Linked DNA regions of Homo sapiens: region 2 is linked to region 1. Evidence: promoter capture Hi-C in 16 types of primary human blood cells and fetal thymus (Javierre and others, 2016). All regions are on one chromosome and are shown on one strand. The core of a region is centred on a gene start or on the middle of the fragment in contact, and the rest is flanking DNA. Distances in the headings are between cores, read along the strand shown. Region 1 holds the start of KRT2 (keratin 2). Region 2 has its middle 21 kb from the start of KRT76.

Region 1 (3,569 bases), core at 615-3,114:
TTGGGTGCCTAGCACAAATCTGGCTCAATTTCCTTCATAGAGGCATTAAGACCCCCCTGAAGCTGCCATAGTGTGAGCACAGTCATGGTGGAGTAAGGGACGACTAGGGCATTGCTCAGATATCTGTAGATAATGACACATTTTGCTTTGGATTGAGACTGTCTCCAAAGCTGTTAGCTTCATGATTTGTTTGCATGATTATAATTATGCAAACCAGATTGGAAAAAATAATTGAGGAGACATGTAGCTTTGTTTCCTTCAGCATTCTTTTACTGCAAATTAAATACCTTGAATAGTAGTTAAGACAGGATTGGAAACTTGGCGGGGAAGATGCAGAAGGGTGAATAGCATTTATTGAGTTTCTGCTATGAACTAGGAACTGTGTTTAGCACATGTGTGTATTGTTCTGTTTTCACAGTAGCCATATTCTTATTATTCTTGTTCACTTTTTATAGATGAGGAAACTGAGGCTTGAAGAGGATTATGGATTATCTGAGGTCATTTAACTAAGATACAAGAAAATTGGGATTTGACCTCAAACTTATGTTTTTTACATTATTTTGTGATAACTTGGTACTAGGATCTGAACCACCTGGTTCTGTAATTTATGATGCCTGTGGAGAGTGCATGTTCATAGTAGCCAGAAGACAGTAACATGGCAAGGGGGAAAGGAAAAGGAATTATCTTTGTCTCACCCCAAACAATAATGATACTGACATTTTATTGTGCACGGTGGTTTTCAAAACACTTCATACGAATTTCCCATTTTATAGCTGGGACCACAGAGCCTCAGGGTTTCATTCAAGGCCTCACAGCCAATAAATAGCAAAACTGGGACTCAAACCCAGAATTTCTGACTAAATTCAGTTTTATTACTCCAAGAACCTCTCCCACATAGTTGGCCACATGGACAGAGGAAGTGGTTGAGTTTAAGTGTGAGTGCTCTGTGCAGGCTGGATGGTCTTCTTATCCTCAAGCATCTGTGGATGTCATTGAAGAGCCTGACTTCCTAATCACTTCCCAGGATCACCAGGCAATACGTGATTACTGACTGACTGAATCAATATACACTTGGATCTTGGTTTGCAAACTTTCACTTGGTGTCCCGCATCACACAGGTCCAGAAACAGCGAAACTTTTCTCATACCTCTCAACCTCTGGGTGTTCATGTAGACAAGGGACAGTTGATGGTTATACAAACCATCATGGTTATAAAAAATCTCTATTCGGTGCCTAGTTATTGTGTATTTTTGGTGTGGCATGGGAAGAAAAGAGCCAAGATATTTTGAAAATCGACACCTCTTTTGCAGTATCCGAGGCCAATTACTTTCTGTAAGAGGAGGTCGATTTCCAATTAGCATTTAAGGTCATTTAAGACCTTTGCAGTCTCCCCTGCACTAGTTGGGGCTCTTTCTGGGAAAGAGGGAAACTACAAGAGAACTACAAGGCTGGCATTGAGGGGCTCTTGCAGTCTCTAAACCCACCATCCCTTTCATTGTTGAACTGGGGTGGTGAGCCTGCACAAGCATGGGTGGTAGCTGACTTCCCTTGGGCAGGTCCAGAACAGGGAGCAGCATTCTGCAGAAGGTCCTTTTCCAGATTGAGAAACCCAAACCCTGATCTCCTCTTTTGATGATTTTACAAAAATCAAATTGCATGACAGATGCCCAGATAAACAGAAGTTTGCAATCAAAGCAAGTTCTGGGATGGAGCTGATTAGTAGATTTTTAATGGCTATTAGCTTGATAATCACGCACCAGGAATAGCTCCCAGGCAGACCAAACCCACGTATAAGTGGATCCACACCCATGTACACAACACCTAGTTGGCAGGTATATAAGGGGACCCTGAAAGCCTCCCAGCAGCACAGTTGAGTCTCCAGCCTTGACTCTTCTCAAGAGCCTGTGACTTTCCTCCCTGGACAAAGGCATCATGAGTTGTCAGATCTCTTGCAAATCTCGAGGAAGAGGAGGAGGTGGAGGAGGATTCCGGGGCTTCAGCAGCGGCTCAGCTGTGGTGTCTGGTGGAAGCCGGAGATCAACTTCCAGCTTCTCCTGCTTGAGCCGCCATGGTGGTGGTGGCGGGGGCTTCGGTGGAGGCGGCTTTGGCAGTCGGAGTCTTGTTGGCCTTGGAGGGACCAAGAGCATCTCCATTAGTGTGGCTGGAGGAGGTGGTGGCTTTGGCGCCGCTGGTGGATTTGGTGGCAGAGGAGGTGGTTTTGGAGGCGGCAGCAGCTTTGGAGGTGGCAGCGGCTTCAGTGGTGGTGGTTTCGGTGGAGGCGGCTTTGGTGGAGGCCGCTTTGGAGGTTTTGGGGGCCCTGGTGGTGTTGGAGGTTTAGGGGGTCCTGGTGGCTTTGGGCCTGGAGGATACCCTGGTGGCATCCACGAAGTCTCTGTCAACCAGAGCCTCCTGCAGCCTCTCAACGTGAAAGTTGACCCAGAGATCCAGAATGTGAAGGCCCAAGAGCGTGAGCAGATCAAAACTCTCAACAACAAATTTGCCTCCTTCATTGACAAGGTGACTCTGGAGAAGACGGCTCCCACTGATGCTCAGGCCACTTCACTTCCAGAGCCAACCAAAAAGAAAATGGCACAGATTTGTATTTCTTAGGAGCCAGTGGTGTACCGCAGTAGCCTGGGTCATTTGCGGTTTCCAGATGGAAAAGACGCCAGCTTTGTGGGTTACATTTCCCATAACAGCCTGCACTTAGGAAGCATTTGTCCCTTTGACCTTATTGTTACAGTCCATATAAATAATATTTATGGAAAATTCTGAAAACCATAAAAAATGGATATAGGCAAGTATTGAACTGATCCTTGGGACAGGCCACTGGAGCAGCAGGTTTTGGAAGCCATCGTCTTCTGAGATAGTGTTTCCTTCCTTAGCAGTGATTACTAAACTCTGGGAAGCTGAACCTGAAATATCTGCTTGGGAATGCAGGAAATTCCTGCCTTCAAGAGAAGCGTTCTCAGTTTTGTGATCCATAAAGTCTTTATTGGTGTCACTTCGGAGTGTTACTGGCTTTTCTCCTATTTCAAGGCAGACGAACCTGTCTTGGTTTATCTGCCTTGAAATAGGCAGGGATTTACAAGGCTCTTAAAAATCAGGCTGAGGAGCCCTGCCCTCTGGGACTCTCATACTCAGCACCCTTGCGAGCAGTGCCAGCAGATGGCTGCTTTCGGTTTTCCCCAGAATTTATGGGATCTTGGCTGGAAATTCAACCAGGATGCGGGGAGGGAAATGGTCTAGAGTATTGGGAGCAGCTGCAAACAAACCAGTGAGCAGTGAAGCAGCAAAGAGTCTCCTCTGCGTGGAGAGAGCCGGATGTAGCATTAGGAGTCTGTGGGACTTTCCAGGGGCGAAAGCAGGGAGCTCAGAAGCTCTGCCAGTCATGACTCGGCATCCAGCCTCAGACACTTCTCGAGGTCCTGAAGCAGCACCTGAGCTGCCCCTGGCCAGCGTGGCTTGCTTGGTGTGAAGGATGATCTAGAACTCATGTGCTCTCCTTCTGGTCATGGCAGGTGCGGTTCTTGGAGCAGCAGAACCAGGTGTTACAGACCAAATGGGAG
Region 2 (3,493 bases), core at 92-2,591, 100 kb before region 1:
TAAGGGTGGGAAAGACTTGGGTATGAGAGGAGAGGTTGAGAGGAGGGGCAGGAGAGGGAGGAGGGTAACTGATGGAGCAAAGAATTAGAGGAGATGGGTGGGGATACACCTTGAAGCCTTGTACAAGAAAAAGGAAAATCAGGTGGGTGTGGAGGCAGGCAGGAGTCAAGGCACAGAAGGGATGCTGAGGGGATCACTCCTGATGGCTTCAGTGTTCTTGGTGAAGTAGGAAGCTAGGCTTGGGTGGTCTCCCTTAGCAGAGCTCAGTGCCTGCAGCAGGTGGGGGAAGGAAGTTTTAGTCATGGCCTTGAGAAGGGACTTTGTTAGGCTGATGGTTGAAAGATAGGGGAATAGGGGAATTGATGAGGCTGGTGAGAAGGTCGTCCAGGTGGTGAAGTCCAGTCTTCCTTCTATGAGGAATGAGATAGCATCAATTTTGTTCACCACTTTCCACCACCTGGTCAATGCCTAGCATATAGTAGATGCTCAGAAAGTATTTGTTGAATGAATGAATAATGCTTAATGTGAGAAGAGCAGGAAAAGAAACTAGGAGAGAGCTAACAGCCTTGGAAAAAATGAAGGGGTTAAGACAATGAGATTATTTACATGAGTGAAGAGCAGATGTAATGAGAGTTAATTGGGAGAGCCCTGGGAGATGGAAAGTTATGGCCAGAAAGTGGGGCTTGGGAATTAAGCTTCTAGGAGGCAGCAGTTCTTGGTGATGGTCCAGGCTGCAGGCATGGAGTGTGTGGTTGAGGTGGAGTGAAGGAGAAGGTGACCGGAATTGAGAAGACCCAGGGATTCCATGGCCAGGCTGCTGAGTGGGTCATCCTCTCAGAGGTGGAACTTAGCAAGGACGATGGTGGTGGTGGGGAGGAGATGCATGGTATTCCAGAACCCAACAGGGGGAAGAAACCGTGGAGGTAATTTGTTCAACTTCCTACCAAATGATAGCAAGAAGATTGGCTTGGATGGAATGACAGAGTTTTAACATTAAAGTGGTGGAATCAGGATGGAGGAAAGAAAAAGGGAAAGGGGAGGGCATTTAAGGTCAAAAGAGGAGATCGTTCTGCTAGAAGAGGCAGGCTAGTCAACTTTTGGGTAGGAGAGTGACATTTTGAAAATGGTACTTGCATAAGATCATGTTGGCAGGGGTGGATGGGAGCAAAGAGAGACTAGAGACTCTGGGTGATCTTTGGGGAGCAGTGAGCCACATCCAAACTCATGACCCACTGCAGTTTGCCAGGCTGTCAGAAACAGCATAAATTCTTCCCACTCAATGGGTCAGGCTGGTACATATCCCTGCATTTGTGGATATACCACGCTCTGCTTTGTAGCCTTCAGCAGCCTTTGATGATCTTGCCTCAAATGAAGCGTAATATTTGCTGCACAGATGGGTTTCTGCAAGTCTCTTTACGCCCGCAACATGGGATACTCTTTATCATCTCCATCAGCTCACCTCAAGATACCTTCTCTGGGAAGTCTTCCTTGACTAACCGCCCTCCACAGTTCCCATTTCAATCCCCTCCTGCAACTGCAATAGTCACGTGGCTGTTTCTGGTCCCATCCGTGTCTGCCTCATGCTCTGGGTGACAGTGTCAGGCTGTTTGCTTTCTGGGTATTAACAGAACACATTTCCTCCTTCCTGTAAACTTCTTGTTATATGATCAAGAAGCTATTCAATAAATGGAACAGAACTGGGTTTGCTTAAACTTTAGCTCCCATGTTGTCTTGTGTGTCTTGCAATGAGTGCCCTTCCCAAAGTCTTTGAGAGCTGACTTGCCATCCCATGACCTACTCCTGTGGTGCTGTCTACAGAGGCAAGGACAACATTAGATTCCTGTTGATGTGGTGGTGCCAAAGAATGTGTCTGTTCTAAGCCTGGTATAAGCACCTACCAGAGGTGGAAAGAACTGCAGCCTCCAGGGCAACCTGAGCATGATCTTTATTTTTATTTTAATTTTAATAAACTGTAACTAGAAGCTTCTCGGTCATCAAGTTGTTTATCCTCGTGCACAGGGTCAGTTGGCAGTGAACCTACCCCTGAAACCCAGTCAAAACTTCTCTTCCCTCCAGAGGCAATGGCATGGCAGCTTGGAGTGCCCAGCTCTCTGGCCTCTCTGCAGGGAAGGCCTTCTAGCACCCCCGTTACTGTAGCGTAAATTTTTTCTTGGCCTGTGCTCACCAGAAACCACTGGATTCAGATCCTCTCTCCTTATAGCCAGGATGACTGTTGCTGTTACCCCCGGTTAGAATTCTTAATAAAATTGCCTCTCTTTTGTTTATTTTGAGGATAATCTTCAGCCTCTACCCAGGCCCCTGAGGGTGTCAGGCTGCCAAGAGAAGCATCCAAGCTGGTATGTTAGGGGCTTCTAGGGGCTGAGAAAATGTGAGGGTGTGAGGTGAGATTCAAGACCTTCCAATCAGCTGGGTCTCTTTTCCCTCCAGTTGGATGATTTGGCTGCATTTCCCATGTGCTTAACATGGGCTTGGTACACAGGTGGGCATGTTTAGCAGAGAGGGCAGCCACTCCTACAAGTGGCAGCTGATTTAGTCAGTCTGTATCTCAAAACCCCATCTTAAGTTCATGCATACAGGCTCCTGTCCTGGGTTTGGGGCAGGAGATGATTGGGTAGAAGGCTGTCTGGAGGGCCAAGACTTTTCTTCTCCAGCATGACAGTGGAGGCGGGACACACAACTACCCACACAGAGGACAATGCTATAAGCAGGAGGAACCGAATAGTTGCTGATCCCACAAAATCTGGGAGCCTACCATGGGCCAGGCACTGTGCTAGGCAATGGGGAGCCCTGGAGAACCAGGCAGAGAGGATCCTGTCATCATGGCATCTGTTGTCAGGTGGACAAGGGTGCAGCCCTCACTGCAGGGGAGAGGCAGGAAGGGAATGCAGGCAGCAGAATACACAGGGGCCTGAAAAGGGGACTAAGGGGGCATGTTTGAAAGTGGAAGAGACTGGGCACGGGATGTGAGATGAGTGACATGAGGCTCCCTGGGCAGCAGGTTGAAAAACAGAATCAACAGAGCCACCCAGGGAGCCACAGGCAGACAGAGGGGATGTTAGGAACTCTCTTGGTCACCAGAATGGTGAGCATTGCTCAGTCTCAGATGAATGAATGCCTTCAAGTATCCAGTCCATTCATTCAGACCCCTGGCTCAGCCTGGGATATTCTGGCTGAATCCCCCTCTCCCTGGCTAGAATAGTGAGAGTGCAGGTTGTGTTGCAGACCCAGGGACAAACTCTCTGGGGAGTTCCATGGACACACATGGTGTGAGACTTGGAGGTGCTAAAATTAGGAGGAAACTACCCTTTCATTTGATCCTCTCAACTCTTTCCAGATTCCCGGGTGAGCCTTGTTCATTCTGAGAGGCAGACAGCAGAATGACAGGAGTGGACGCCCAGGGTTAAGGTGGAATGAAAAAGCCACCAACTCACCTTATTGGACCTGCTGCCTCCTGAGAAGCCAGTGCCCAGGG

The links. The method cuts DNA at HindIII sites, captures the fragments that hold promoters and counts their contacts. A CHiCAGO score of 5 or more calls a contact.
Region 2: a contact is called between a fragment that was not itself captured here and the fragment with the promoter of KRT2 in region 1, in 3 of 17 cell types (naive CD8 T cells, non-activated CD4 T cells and total CD8 T cells). The highest score is 5.3, in naive CD8 T cells.

Annotation. Positions count from the first base shown.
Region 1 is chr12:52,650,506-52,654,074 of GRCh38, reverse strand. KRT2 (keratin 2) reads left to right here and starts at 1,864. Exons shown (of 9, transcript NM_000423.3): 1 at 1,864-2,517; 2 at 3,522-3,569. The coding sequence starts at 1,933. The HindIII fragment of the contact is 4,749 bases long and covers 1-3,569 here.
Region 2 is chr12:52,754,505-52,757,997 of GRCh38, reverse strand. No RefSeq gene overlaps it. Among named protein-coding and RNA genes, the nearest start is that of KRT76, 21 kb to the left of the region's middle. The HindIII fragment of the contact is 1,288 bases long and covers 698-1,985 here.